Regions from separate parts of the Homo sapiens genome. Here all the other regions are linked to region 3. Evidence: promoter capture Hi-C in 16 types of primary human blood cells and fetal thymus (Javierre and others, 2016). All regions are on one chromosome and are shown on one strand. The core of a region is centred on a gene start or on the middle of the fragment in contact, and the rest is flanking DNA. Distances in the headings are between cores, read along the strand shown.

What was found. Contacts are between HindIII fragments. The CHiCAGO score rates a contact against its expected background, and 5 or more counts as called.
Region 1: a contact is called between a fragment that was not itself captured here and the fragment with the promoter of CPEB3 in region 3, in 1 of 17 cell types (non-activated CD4 T cells). The highest score is 5.5, in non-activated CD4 T cells.
Region 2: a contact is called between the fragment with the promoter of FGFBP3 here and the fragment with the promoter of CPEB3 in region 3, in 1 of 17 cell types (naive CD8 T cells). The highest score is 6.4, in naive CD8 T cells.

Annotation. Positions count from the first base shown.
Region 1 is chr10:92,569,090-92,573,600 of GRCh38, reverse strand. The region is part of intron 1 of IDE (insulin degrading enzyme); the gene reads left to right. Among named protein-coding and RNA genes, the nearest start is that of IDE, 2.7 kb to the left of the region's middle. RefSeq lists a silencer at 1-108. The HindIII fragment of the contact is 1,298 bases long and covers 875-2,172 here.
Region 2 is chr10:91,907,507-91,912,610 of GRCh38, reverse strand. FGFBP3 (fibroblast growth factor binding protein 3) reads left to right here and starts at 3,125. Exons shown (of 2, transcript NM_152429.5): 1 at 3,125-3,213; 2 at 3,564-5,104. The coding sequence starts at 3,642. The coding sequence ends at 4,418. FGFBP3-AS1 (FGFBP3 antisense RNA 1) reads right to left here and starts at 4,482. Exons shown (of 2, transcript NR_199602.1): 1 at 4,362-4,482; 2 at 3,263-3,714. RefSeq lists an enhancer at 3,485-3,779 and a silencer at 3,683-4,252. The HindIII fragment of the contact is 14,773 bases long and covers 1-5,104 here.
Region 3 is chr10:92,289,426-92,294,315 of GRCh38, reverse strand. It overlaps CPEB3 (cytoplasmic polyadenylation element binding protein 3), which reads left to right and starts at 3,238. Exons shown (of 10, transcript NM_014912.5): 1 at 3,238-3,390. It overlaps MARCHF5 (membrane associated ring-CH-type finger 5), which reads right to left and starts at 3,149. Exons shown (of 6, transcript NM_017824.5): 1 at 2,787-3,149. The coding sequence starts at 2,821. RefSeq lists enhancers at 2,209-2,787, 3,735-3,944 and a silencer at 2,925-3,174. The HindIII fragment of the contact is 4,117 bases long and covers 215-4,331 here.

The sequences.
Region 1 (4,511 bases), core at 274-2,773, 280 kb before region 3:
CCTGGGAGCCGCGCCGCGTCACTCTCCCGGAGTCCGCCTGTGAGGGGGCCGGGAACCTGAGGCGGACTCGAGCCGTGGGGTAAAGGAATCCGGCGACTTCGGGGGGACCGCTTCTCACCTTGCCCTCAGCCCTGCCCTTTTCTCCGGGCACTGAGTTTCCAGGACCGTGTGGAATGCCCGCGCTGGGAAAAAAGTTTGCCTGCCTCCCGCCTTGGAAGACGAGTGTGGGGTTTCCTATCGGGGGACATTTAGGAGCCAAAAGATACCTCGGGATCCTCTACAGCAGCTCCCTTGTTTTACGTCGGAGACAACCGGAGCTCCGAGAGATGGCTTGATTTCCCAGCAACTGCCGAGATTGTGGCAAAACCAGGATTAGGACACAGGTTTTTTGCCATCCGGCGGCGTGCCCTCTCCACTGCACCGTTGATCTGCGTACGCTAGGCGTTTTCAGGCTTGTAGTGAACGCTGAATACTTTTTACTACGAATGGAAGAAGATAGGCAGTATTATCTTGCCCTCCCTAGAAACGTTATTTGAACCCCTGCTGGTTTTAATCAGTAATAGCCAGCACCTACTAAGTGCAGGGCACTGTGCTGGACCCTCTATGTAAAGTATGTGTCTGCCTTCCAAGGAACTTTGACTTGATTGGAGCGGATTGGGATGCCACGGGAATTGAGATAGCTACAAGGGTGTGTTGATGAGGGTCAGAAGATGGGTAGTATGGGTAGTGTGTGGGGCCAGAGATGGGGGGGTAGGCTGGCTTTGGAAGGAATGGCAGAAAGGTTGGAGTGAGGGCTGGCGTGGGCGTAATCCAGCCTAGATATGCGGGCAGTTTGTGTTGGGGGAGCAGTGAGCCGATTAGTCTGGTTGAAGCTTTATAGAATTTCCTTGGGGTAATTAGAAGGACACAAGTCCTGTATTATAACAGTAGGGTAATGCTGGCCTGGGTCTTGAATTTTAGTTGGGATTTTCCCAATGCGTAGTAGGTAGGGAGCCATTAAAGTTTTTGAGCTGGAAAGTTATCTGATGGAACTGGGGGTTTAGGAAAGTAGTTTGGTGGCTGTGTGCAGGATGTCAGGAAGTGGAGAGAGTCCTAAGGCAGAGAAACCTGTTGGGACTTAGTCTTTACTGCCTGTATTAGGATGGTAGCAGTGGGGCACTAAGATAAGCTAATACAAATGAAGACTCTATGGAACTTGTTCTCCTCTGTTTTCCACTACATCACAAAATCTCCTATAATGTGCAAAAGACCCCTGAACTTAGAGAATCAGGTGGTAAGCACAGGCAGGATGCCTCCTTTTGTCCTCTTTTGTGTCAGTCTGCTTTTGTTCTAAATTCATTACTGATAGGCTAGGCTTAGCTGTCTCCATACTGTCTCCAGCATATAGCATTTGTGATTTTTAAAGAAAGCACCAATTTTAAGTTTTGTATAACTAAGTGGTTTGTATGTTCTAGTTAAAATTACATTTTCTCTGTAGTTATAAAGTCCGGTCGACCATCCAGAGTTTTAAGATATGTTTTTCTCAAAGATGGAAATTTGAGAGATTCAAAGCATAATGAATGAGATGAGCCAGCTAGAAAGCTCTACCCTAAAATCAGTGAGTGAGGCTTTTGAGGAAAATACAGGTCCAACCAAAGGGATTAGGGCATAGTTTTAGGAAGGAAAGCACTAACATCTGAAGCTACCACATATTCTCATCTTAAGGAATGCAATCAGCCCTACTGTACATAGTCGGAAGAATGTCTTAACAGAGATAGCCACACAGCTATTTGCTGGAAGAGCTGGGATTTAACCCATGTCTATCTGGCATCGGAGCCTGAGCTCTTAACTGTTATGTATTTGCAAACACAAGTACTGCCTCTGCTGGTATTTGGGCATTCATTTTCTGGTCTAACCTCTTGAGACAGAGATGGTCTTAAAGCATTTATGTAAGATCAATCCATTTACAGAGTAACCTCCTTGTTCTGTGTTCAGCTGTATTTTATAACTTGGGACTGTGTGGAATTATCTGAACTACTGGGGCACCTGGAGATAATAGCCCATTCCCTGGCAACAACTTGAGCCACCTGGGCATCAGTCATCTCACTTTGCAGGCAGCCCTACTTTGCATTTCCCTGTTCCATAGGCTTAGGAAACAGTGGTATGTCAGTTGGGACTATCAACATTCAAGCTTTTAAACTACTGTCAATCAGAAAAATGCCTTTTAATAGTGTAAAAGAACAGGGTACCCCTGAAGTTTCTTTAACCTAATCCACACATTCTGCCTGTCTTGAAAGTTAGGGTTGAGGCCAGGTGGGGTGGCTCATGCCTGTAATCCCAACACTTTGACAGGGCGAGGTCGGGGGGATCACTTGAGGTCAGGAGTTCAAGACCAGCCTGGGCAACATGGTGAAACCCCATCTCTACTAAAAATACAAAAAAATTAGCCGGGCGTGGTGGTGGGCGCTTGTAATCCCAGCTACTCATGAGGCTGAGGCAGGAGAATCGCTTGAACCCGGGAGGCTGAGGCAGGAGAATCGCTTGAACCCAGGAGGCGGAGGTGCAGTGAGCTGAGATCGTGCCACTGCACTCCAGCCTGGGTGACTGAGCGAGACTGTGTCTTAAAAAAAAAGAAGTTAGGGTTGGGGACAGTCTCCCCAGGGTAGGGGAGAAAAAGTTCAGTATGTTTTCTTTTTTTTAAAGTTCGAGACAGGGTTTCACTCTGTCGCCCAGGCTGGAGTGCAGTGATGTGATCTCAGCTCACTGCAGCCTTCATCTCTTGGGTTCAAGTGATCCTCCCACCTCAGCCTCCTGAGTAGCTGGGACTGCAGGCTCATGCCACCACCCCACAACTAATTTTTGTATTTTTGGTAGAGATGGGGTTTTGTCATGTTGCCCAGGGTGGTCTCAAACTCCTGGGCTGAAGCAATCCCCCTGCCTCCCAAAGTGCTGGGGTTACAGGCATGAGCCACTGTGCCAGGCCCAGTATATGTTTCATAAACACTGGTTTCCTTTCTGTTTTTCTGTTGGTATTTTATATCTCCTAAACATGTAGCCAGAGGATCAGGCTACCTTTTAGCCAGGATGACAAGGCTAGAGCACTTTCCCTCCACAGGGGTAGATCCTCTATAGATATGTTAGGTTCTGGAGCCTTCTCATTTGGCTTGTCTTCAGTCTGTTTTCACTGTTCTGTTAGTTTAGACATTATTTGAATGTCTACTCTGTAGTGATCACACACTGTGTCCAGTACTATGTAAATGCAAAGATAACCATAAATCTTGTCCTCAAGGAGCTTTCAGTAATAAACAGTAAACTGCTTTACCTCTGACCTTTTACTAGACACCTCCACTTTTATGTTTTGTTGTTTCTTTCAATTAATTTTGAAAAACAACTTAGTATTTTATCACCATACTGATTACTTTTTTAAAAAGTGGGACTCACAAAATTATTTTATTCTTCTCAAAGAACTGTTTAGTTTCTTTTTGCCTATTAAAAGTGTAACTTTTTTTTTTTTTGAGACTGAGTCTTGTTCTGTTGCCCAGGCTGGAGAGTGACACGATCTTGGCTCACTGCAACTTCCACCTCCCGGGTTCAAGTGATTCTTCTGCCTCAGCCTCCAGAGTAGCTGGGATTACAGGTGTGTGCCACCACACACAACTAATTTTTGTATTTTTAGTAGAGCTGGGATTTCACCATGATGGCCAGGCTGGTCTTGAACTCCTGACTTCAGGTGATCTGCCCACCTTGGCCTCCCAAAGTGCTCGGATTACAGGCGTGAGCCACTGCGCTCGGAATAACTTTTTAAAGTAGGACTCACAATCTGCTTTCTGAAGGGAAGGCATCACACTCTGCCTGACACATAGTAGGTACTCAGTACATATTTACTGCATAACTTAATTGATTAATGGTCTTTTTTCAAAACAATTTTTTTCTGTAGAGTCCTTAGTTTTGCTATGTTGTTATCATTTTTTCAGTTTAGCTTGAAAATGAGAGTTTTCAGTTTAGCTTGAAAATCTTTGAATCTTTTTCCCTCATTGCCTATTCCCAAGACCCAATCCTCCTGAGTCTTTCATCCTAAAGATTCCTAAAGTTTCTTGGAGTGATCTTGACCCTCATCACCATCCTAGTTCAGGCCATGATCATCTTCGTAACATCTTACATCAGTGAGATTATCTCACCTGAACAGGTTTTAGAACTGACTTTTCCAGCCTTCTGTCTCCCTACTAGTTGATTCTTATCATCACATCAGATTAATAAACCACTTTTCCCAAGCTGTTGTCTCGCCTAAATATCACCAGTGGTTCTGTGCTATTTCAAGATCAAGTTCAAACTTCTTGACCCAGCATGTAAGCATTCTGTTGGCTGGCTTAGCCCAACTTTTCAGCCTAACTCTTCTCCAGTCAGACTTACCAATTTGCTGTCTCCTTTTACATGACCTATTCATTCCCAATTCCGAGATGCCCTTTCTGTCTTTTCTTTATATGACTAAATCCTTTATTCTTTTTAGGCCTTGTTATACAGGTCACACAATT
Region 2 (5,104 bases), core at 1,876-4,375, 380 kb after region 3:
ACTACCATGCCCAGCTACTTTTTGTATTTTTAGTAGAGATGGGGTTTTGCCATGTTGGCCAGGCTGGTCTCGAACTCCTGACCTCAGGTGATCCACCCGCCTTGGCTTCCCAAAGTGCTGGGATTACAGATGTGAGCCACCATGCCCAGCCTGAATTGGTATAATTAAAACATAACTAATAGTAAAATACAAAGACAAAACATAAAGATCACTGATCACTGAAAGATGTAAGTGGTTTTATCACTAAATGATGTGTGAACCTGGACAAGTTATCTAGTTTCTCTGATTTTACCAGAGTGTTAAAAACTTCCTTTCTGAAGTCAATATACATTGCTATATATTTAATATATACTACTATATATTTAAACATATTCTTCTAATTCTAAAGTATTTTGGTTTTTATAGTAGTAACCAAACTATAATTGTTCAAATATAATACTAACAGGAGTTCAGTAATAGAAAATGCTATATGCAAGAGGACATTAGGAAATATAATAAGAATTCCTGATATCTTGAGGAAGTATTTAAGTAAAATATTTACTTGTGTAAAAAAATTACAGTCAGAGGTATAAACTTCTGCAATTAAAAAAAATCACATTTATTAATGAGAACATTTTTAAAAGATGATGGAATATTCTGAAGTTTTAAAACAGCTTTGCTAAGGGTCATTTCTGTGTGTCACTTTATTTCTTTTTATATAGCTATAGTATATTTAAACAATAATGCTGTCTTTTATAAGGGTTTGTCTATTTACCTATTCTTTACTCAGACATTGATGTAGACCTTGTCAGATTATTCTGAGTATTGTTAACAGTGCCTTTTTGATGGAATTCACACTTTTTGGCTGTCAACTTGTGCCATATACACACAAAATTTTGTGGAAGGCAGTTTTAATTTTTTGAAGAACATCTGTCAAAATTTAAGAAAACAAATGTATAAAATTCCATTTTTTCCAGTGTTTAGCATTTCTAGTAAGCAGTGAGGTTTTTTGTTTGACATACAGTGATGATGGCATTATTGACAAGCTATACATGAGACTGCAGATTATACTGAATCATGTTAAATGTACAGAAATAAAATATTAGATTTATATCAAACTTTCGCATTTGAACCAGTGGGGAAAACCCCACAGAAATCAGTAAGTTAACATTTCAATGTCTTTCTTATTTGACTAAGTGGAAAGAGAGTCTTTAAAATGTATAACCTGCCATTATGTAATTTGGTTTCATTTTATTCTACCTGTTGTGTGAGTTTAGTATATTTAATTTACTTTGTGTTACTCTACATACTGTTTATTTTTGTTACAGTTTTTAATTGAAGATGGACTCTGAAAGTGGTATAGGACCAGTGTCTTATTAATATCATTAATATATTAAGAGGAGCCACACAAAACCCATGACAAAATGAATGGAAATATTCTTTCTAAAAATTTAGAAAATTTTATACTTTTGCATTTATTATGTAAAATTATTTGTTTTACAATATCAAAATTTTTCGTTTAAAGAAAAAAATGCCATGAAACATTTGAACTGATGAGCCACAGAACTTCAGTTGAAATTTTTTTCACTTTTTAGCATGCTAAATATACATCTCAGTTTAAATATTCTGTTTAATGGCCATTTATAAATTCAAGCACTACCACTGGTCAGTTTTGTGTGATAGAATAAAAATATGTTACCTGCAGTGTAAGTATAGCACACTGTCAAATTCTTTTCCTTAAGGTGCACAGTAAATGTACAGATAGTTATAGGCCACTGTTTTTGCAATGTAGTACATTTCTAATCTATTATTCCTAACCTATTATAACTGTTTGCAGAGAGAAAATAATTGAATTTTTCTAATAATCTGTAAAATTATGCTAACTTCTACAAGTAGGCTTCTAAATAAAAATTTTAAAAAGAGCAAAAAAAAAAAAAAAGAAAGAAAAAACAGCTTTGCTTGGTCAGCACTTTGAGAGGCTGAGGCAGGTGGCTCATCTCAGGTCAGGAGTTCGATACCAGACTGGGCAACATGGTGAAACCCCTTCTCCACTAAAAATTAGCTGGGTGTTGTGGCAGGCACCTGTAATTCCAGCTACTGGGGAGGCTGAGGCAGGTGAATCGCTTGAACCGGGAAGGCAGAGGTTGCAGTGAGCCGAGATAGCACCACTGCGCTCCAGCCTGGGTGACAGAGTGAGCTCCCGTCTCAAAACAAACAAACAAACAAACAAACAAACAAACCCCCGCACACACACACAATCCCCCCCTCCAGAAAAAGCAGCTTTGCTTAAATGTAACATTTTCAAGATTCAAGAACACATTCATTCTCTCTCTCTTTTTTTTTTTTTTTGAGAGGCAGTCTCGCCCTGTCCCGGGTTCAAGTGATTCTCCTGCCTCAGCCTCCTGAGTAGCTGGGATTACAGGCATCTGCCACCACGCCTGGCTAATTTTTGTATTTTTAGTAGAGACGGGATTTCACCAGGCCAGGCTGGTCTCACATTCTTAACTATTATACCATTTCAATTGGTAATCTTACCGTTCAACTACTATAATACAAATAATTTTTTTAAACTTCTAATTTTTGGAGGACCCTTATAACTGATTTCTAATACCTAAAAATAATAAAAAGCCCAAATGTCCACTCCTGGGTGAACTGCTGGGCACTATTGTATGTTAATAAACTAGGATATTATATTTTTATTAGTAGTAACAATTATTAAGATTGAGAGTCTTAAGAAAGGCTATTGGAAATAATAGGTAAAAATGTAGAACTCAGAATATGAGAAATAGAATGTAAATGATATAATTGTGTAAAAAATGCCTAGTTTAGAATACTGAAGTTTGTTTTGTTTCATTTTATTTAACTTTTAAAACTTAGATCTTTTGTTTAATTTTTATTTTTTGGATGGTTAAGTACATGAAAGAAGAAAAACTTGGTTAATTTTGCCTGATTATTTTAAACATTGGAAGCAAAATACAAGATTTGTATTTCATACTACAGGACCGCTTCCATCATCCATCTGGAGAGACAGAGAGAGAGAGGGAGAGAGAGAGAGAAGCGCGGCGGTGATAAGTCTCCCAGTGTGAGAGAAATCGGGGAGGGGCGAAGAAGGGTAGGCCTCTTCTGTTCCATTGATACCACGTTCATTCACAGGGAGCCGGCTAAAACAGACTACTCCCCCGTGCAGTCGTTCCCTCTACCCTAATAAGGCTTTGGCGCCTCTCCCAGAACTCGGTAAGTTCAAAGTGTAGTAAAGTGCATGTTTCCAAGGAATCATCTGAAATGATTTTGTAGATAGTTTATTGCAGGTTGGAGAAGGGAGAAAATGAAGGAAGGGGTAGAGGGGGCAATTATCACGCATCGTTTTGCTATCGTATTTGCAAGGGGAAGAAAATCTCAATGCATACATGGTTCGAAAGTGATTATTTAGACAGTAAGCAGTTTCCCCAGGAAAGCTCCTCAGAGGGTCTCCTCGCAGGCTGCAGATTCTAGAAAGTCTGCGGAAGAGTAGTTCGCAGGTGCATGTGTCTGGGCGAAGCGCTGCGTGTGGCTCAGTTGGTGGCAGTCTCTGCCTCTGTCCGCAGGTCCTGGGGAATGCTCTTTGCCTGGTCCAGCCCCGACAAACGTGGTCTGAGAACAGCGGAGCGCGGAAACCGCGGAGCATGACTCCTCCGAAGCTGCGAGCGTCGCTGTCGCCGTCGCTGCTGCTGCTGCTGAGTGGTTGCCTCCTCGCGGCTGCTCGGAGGGAGAAAGGGGCGGCTAGCAACGTGGCGGAGCCGGTCCCCGGGCCCACTGGCGGCTCCTCGGGTCGCTTCCTCAGCCCCGAGCAGCACGCGTGCAGCTGGCAGCTCCTGCTGCCCGCCCCGGAGGCCGCAGCGGGCAGCGAGCTGGCGCTGCGCTGCCAGAGCCCGGACGGGGCGCGCCACCAGTGCGCCTACCGCGGGCATCCGGAGCGCTGCGCAGCCTACGCCGCTCGCCGCGCGCACTTCTGGAAGCAGGTGCTGGGAGGGCTGCGCAAGAAGCGGAGGCCCTGTCACGACCCCGCGCCGCTCCAGGCCCGCTTGTGCGCGGGCAAGAAGGGCCACGGCGCCGAGCTGCGGCTAGTGCCCCGCGCGTCCCCGCCCGCACGCCCCACCGTCGCGGGATTCGCGGGGGAGTCCAAGCCCCGGGCCCGGAACCGGGGGCGGACCCGGGAGCGTGCGTCCGGCCCAGCCGCTGGGACCCCGCCTCCCCAAAGCGCACCGCCCAAAGAAAACCCCTCAGAGAGGAAGACCAACGAGGGCAAGAGGAAGGCGGCCTTGGTCCCCAACGAGGAGCGACCCATGGGGACCGGGCCCGACCCCGACGGGCTGGACGGGAACGCGGAGCTCACGGAGACCTACTGCGCTGAGAAGTGGCACTCCCTCTGCAACTTCTTTGTCAATTTCTGGAACGGCTGAGACTGCCTGCCGGCTTAGGGAGGGTTGATGGGGGAGGCGTGGGGAAGGGAAAGCTAAGGGCGTCTTAGACCGGGGGGTACTGTGATAGAGATTGGGGAGAAGTCCAGGTTCTCGAATGGGGGTGGGGGCAAGGGTAAGGGTGAGATGCTTGGGATGAGAGTGTAAGGGGTATGGAGAATCTCTGGGATAGCAGAGAAGTTAAAAATTTTGAAAAGTCTCAGTCCTGATTAAGAGCAGGAAAAATAATGGAAACAGAAATAGGCGTACTTTAAATGTGCAAAAACTGGAGACTGGGGAGAGAAATCGATGCAGAGGGAGGCTGAGAATAAGGGGGAGATAGAGTGACTAAAGTGATGTGAGTCCCATGTGGGGAGGGGGATGCAATGTTTATTGTTTAACATTTCTATTAAATGCAGCCATGAGCAATTGCCAACCTGAGCCAGGTTGAATCAATGTCTTCTCACTTAATCAGCTAACAAGACTGCAGACTTTTTTTCCGTTTCTGAATTGGTATAAACTTGGATGCGGCGTGGTGGGTGTCATAGATAACCTCTATAGGGACAGAAGCCTCACAGGTCAAAACTGGCTCCAAGGAAAGTTTTGCAGAATGATTTCCTTTCCATTCTTTTAGAAGAGCTACCTTTTTTTTTTTTTTTCCCTGACAGGGTCTGGCTTGCCCAGGCTGG
Region 3 (4,890 bases), core at 1,989-4,488:
TAGGGTTCTCATTTTATAAATGATAATATACATAGTGTCAGAATCTAAGTTCAAAGTCACATAGCTAGTAAGTGGCAAAATTCGAATTTCATACTTTCTATCTCTGAGCCCAAGCTTTACTCACTATACCCTACTATCTCTTATCATGAAAGATATCACTGACTTAGGACTTAGGGCAGTAGGTTTCTGCCATATCTAAAACATTTAAAAAGCTTTAAAATATAGATGCCCAGGCTCTACCCTACAGAAATTTTTGATCTTATTGGTCTTACAGTCCAGCATCCATGCATATTCTGAAATGCTCCCCAGGTAATTCTAACATGGAAGTAGGTTGCCAACTACTAATCTAGACAATAACGGTCTTTGAAAGTCATGTTAAAAATCTACCTTAAGGTATGTCAAAAGAGTACAAAGATGAGAGTAGTACAAAGATGAGAGTAAGCCAGTGTCATAGTCACCTACTTCAGTAAATGGCAGCCAGAATCTTCGCATTTCTGTTAATAAGTTTTAAATGCCTCACTAGCTTTTTTTTTTGAGATGGAGTTCCACTCTGTCACTCAGGCTGGAGTACAATGGTGCGATCTCAGCTCACTGCAACCTCCGTCTCCCAGGTTCAAGCAATTCTCATGCCTCAGCCTCCCGAGAGTTGGAACTACAGGCCCACGCCACTACGCCTGCCTAATTTTTGTATTTTTTTTTTTTTTTTTAGTAGAGACAGGGTTTCACCATGTTGGCTAGGCTGGTCTCAAAGGCCTGAGCTCTAGTGATCTGCCTGCCTTGGCCTCCCAAAGTGCTGGGATTACAAGGGTGAGCCACCGTGCCCAGGCTCACTCTTTGGCTTCTTACTTTTATGGAAATATCCAAAGAGCATATGAAAAGTTAGGTCAGCTTTTGGACATAAGAACTTTTCTAGGCTGGGCACGATGGCTCATGCCTGACAATCCAGCACTTTGGGAGGCTAGGCGGGAGGATCACTTGAGCCCAGGAGTTTGAGACCAGCACAGGCAACATGGCAAAACTCTGGCTCTATAAAAATACAAAAAATTAGCTGGGCATGGTGGTATGTGTTGTGGTCCCAGCTACTAGGGAGGCTGAGGTAGGAGGATCACCTGAGCCTGGGAGGCGGGGGTTGCAGTGAGTTGAGATCATGCCAATGCCACTGCCACTGCCACTGCATTCCAGTCTGGGCAACAGAGACCCTGTCTCAAAAAAAGAAGAAAAAAAGTCACTATGTAAAAATGAAAAGCAGGAGGCCCTCAAAGGAAAAAAATTAACTACAAAATACCCCACATCAGAACAGGGTCTCAACAGAATAGAACTGGCAGTGGCAGGTGGTTTCCTCTGGGCATATTTTAATTTGCCACAATTTGCCAATTTACAATGAAAGGAAAACCTGGTAAATTATCAGACCCCCTAGACAACTGGGGAAACTGACAAATAAGTTTGTGCATTAGTTCATACAACAAATACTTACTGATTACCTACTGAGTACCAGGCTCTGTTCTGGGATTCAAGATAAACAATAGTAAGTTTCTGCTTCCAAGAGCTTATAAACCACACACATATCACACACATATATATATAAAGCAGTCAATACAATTGTCAGGATGTTGACCTGAAACAAGGGCTGGATGAATCACCAGTTATCTCAACTGAAAAAAATCAGTGACATAATTCCTATTAACTGAGATGGCTCAAAATTCTAAGCTCCAAAAAAATGTCTGTCACTCTGGAAGGATGTGTACCCTTGGGTCATTTGTGTTCTGGGTGTGGCAGGCCCAAAAGCATTTAACTGGGTATAAACTCAATTAAGGGAGGGCCTTCATTTAACACCTTACAGTTGGAATTTTACTGAGTACAAAGAGTTGGTACCACCTGCTGAAATGGGTGGCAAGTGGTGTCTATTGAGAATTGTAAGCAACCACAAACATCATGAATTAGCTTGTACAACTTGCTATGCCAGGAAGTAAGACTTGGCTCGGGGGAAATGTGGATCTAGAGTCTCCAAAAACTCATGGTAGGACCCACGGACCAGAATTTCAACAGCAGAGGGCGGTGCACCCGACTTCACAAAGAGTTTTACCGACTGGGGCCCCCCAAGAATGGGCAACTGGACTCCTGTACGAGCTGAAACGTCTTCAATGAACTCAACGATCGTCAAGTACACTAAATGTTCAGCGTTGGACTCATTTGGCTGTTTTCCATAACCTCTACTCTGGTCTGACCGTTAAATCTCCCTTGCGGATACTCTGACCTTACAGTTCGGAGGTGGGGACGGGATGGGGCGGGGGGGACGGGGGGTGCGGGTTCAGGGAAAGTGGGAGAATGAAATCAGCCTATCAGGCTTTCCAAAAGAATGCTTATCATTGGTTCTCAGACAGAGACTTAAAATTATAAGGGGGTCATTCCCCTGAAAGATAACCCGGTTCTTGCCAGTGACATCGCTGACAAACACTTCACAAGTTGGGGAGGGGGAAGGGGGAGGGGAAGAGGGTAAGGAAAACTAATTTTGTGGATTAACAGGAGTCCCTCTCAGGTCAAAACGGGGTTCCAAGGAAACCAGACGCCACTCCTTAGCTAAGTTTCACCCAAAGTCTACGACCCAGGCCGCTCGCTCTGTCCTCCCCCAGGTCTAGACTCCAAACTTTTTGCCCCTCTCACGGCCCCCTGGCCGTGGAACTCCTCCCGGCACGCCGGGTTCTGCTCACCAAGAGCCTCGAGGGCGGGCGCGGGCAGGGCCAGAGCGAGGGTCGGCGGCTCCCGGTCCCCCCCACAGCTGCCCGTACCTGTCCAGCATCTGCTGTAGGGCTTGGTCCGGCATCTTCCGCGGAGCCGGCGCACACGGCCTTCCCCAGTGGACCCGCTCAAGGCCAGGCCCAGGGACAATAGCACTGAGAGGCGGCGGAGTAGGCCGCAGTCCGGCGGCAGCCGCGAACCCGTCACCCAGCTTCCCGGGGCAGCTCCGCTAGCCTGGCGGCGGCGGTGCAGGGCCTGCGGGAGTCCGGCGGAGGCGGCGGAGAGCGAGGAGGAGGAGCCTGAGGCGGGGAGGCGGCGATCGCGGCCCGGGTTCCCGTCCGTCGGCCCGAGGTTCCGGTCCATGGACCGCGGGCGCCGAGTTGCTGCCGGCGGAGGAGCTACCTTTGTGAGGTAAGAGTCGCCGCCTCCGTGCGCGCCAGGGTTACGACGCAGGGCGGCCCAGAGCAGCCTGGGAGATGTAGTCTTCGGACCGTCTCCACTAGAGGCTGCACAGCCCGCCCGGACCAACGCCTCCGCGCCTGCCGCCGTCTGGCCGGCGCCCTCCCGTTTCCTTCCTCCAGGGGGAAAAAATGTCTTTCGGGCCGCTTTCCAGGAAGCAGCAGGATGCGCCGCTCCACTGTCGGTAGCAACAAGGTCAGCCCTCCCTGCCTGTTTGTTTTTGCCTCCGCTCTTGCCCTCAGGTGGGACCGAGCCAGGTGAGGGGAGGGGGCTGAAGGGCCATTTCTTATCAGGGTCCCCGGCCCCGGCCGTGGCGTCGGGGCGGTCAGTGGCGGCAGTGGGGGTGGCAGAAACTCCTTCCGAAGCCCCCGGCGCTGGAGCCAGCCTCTCCTGCGGCAGAGCCCATTTTGGGGGAATTACACCACCTCCGCGAGGGGTCGGTTGGTTTGGTGCGTGAGGTTCTTCTTGAGGGGGCGGGCAAATAGGGACTGCCTGGACCAGACAGCTTCCACCCGAGTCTCTCTGTGTGTTTGGGGCTGGGGAGTTGGGGGAAGGAAAGATGATTCTCTCCCTCTCCAGGAACCTTCTCAAATGTGCCTGGGCTTTCCAGGGCTCGCCGACAGTCTCCAAATGGAACACGTTGGTGAATAAACAGCTCTTGCTTACTCAGCTGTGGGTTGTCAGGGATGTTTGTTTCTCTCTCTGCTGCTGGTCACTGTTAACCGTTTCTAGTCGCGTTGACACCTTCAAGCAGGTGGATTGGGAGTGGCGGGGGTGGGGAATCAAAAAGGAGAAATCATCAGTCACTCCTTGGGTCAGCTTCTGACGTTCGAGGGATAGCTTTGGCGGGAGGAAAGAGCTGTCGGCTCAAACGAATGCGTTTTTTGGACGACCTGTGGCGTTTTCTCTAGGGCTGTGATTGGTAGGACGCTGGTAGTTTTCCCTTGATTATGTCTAATATCTGCTACAAGGTGTTTGATTTTTTAAAAAATGAAAATGTGTTTTTAAAGCTCTTTTTATATGTAGAATTTTACAATCAACTTTTCATTATCTGTTCAAAATTTGCGAAGTATATTTGAACTAGAGTGTTCATTGCTGGGAAAAAACAACAAACCCAAAAAATGTGACCAGAAGCTTACTTGGCCTCCAATTTTTGAAATATGTTTTTGAGAAACAGCACCCACCCCCCCCCACCACACACATACACACACACTCCTCCTAGGGAAAGAAAATGAGTATTTAGTTTAATCGGGGTGTCTAATATTTTATATATATTTGTATTATATATAATATATATGTATTATATAATATATAATACATTTATAATATATAATACATATATACATTTATAATATATAATACATATATATATATATATATATATATATTTTTTTTTTTTTTTGGTAGAGACGCGGTCTCGCCATGTTGCCCAGGCTGGTCTTGCAACTCCTGGGCTCAAGCGAGCCACCCGCATTGGTCTCCCAAAGTGTTGGGATTACAGATGTGAGTCACCGCATGTGACCAGTGTCTAATATTTTATTTAATTAATTCATTTATTTAATTAATTCATTGATTTTGAGAGATGGAGTCTTGCTCTGTTGCCCAGGCTGGAGTGCAGTGGCGCTGTCTTGACTCACTGCAAGCTCCACTTCCTGACTTCAAGTGATCCTTCTAGCCTCAGCTTCCCAAGTAGCT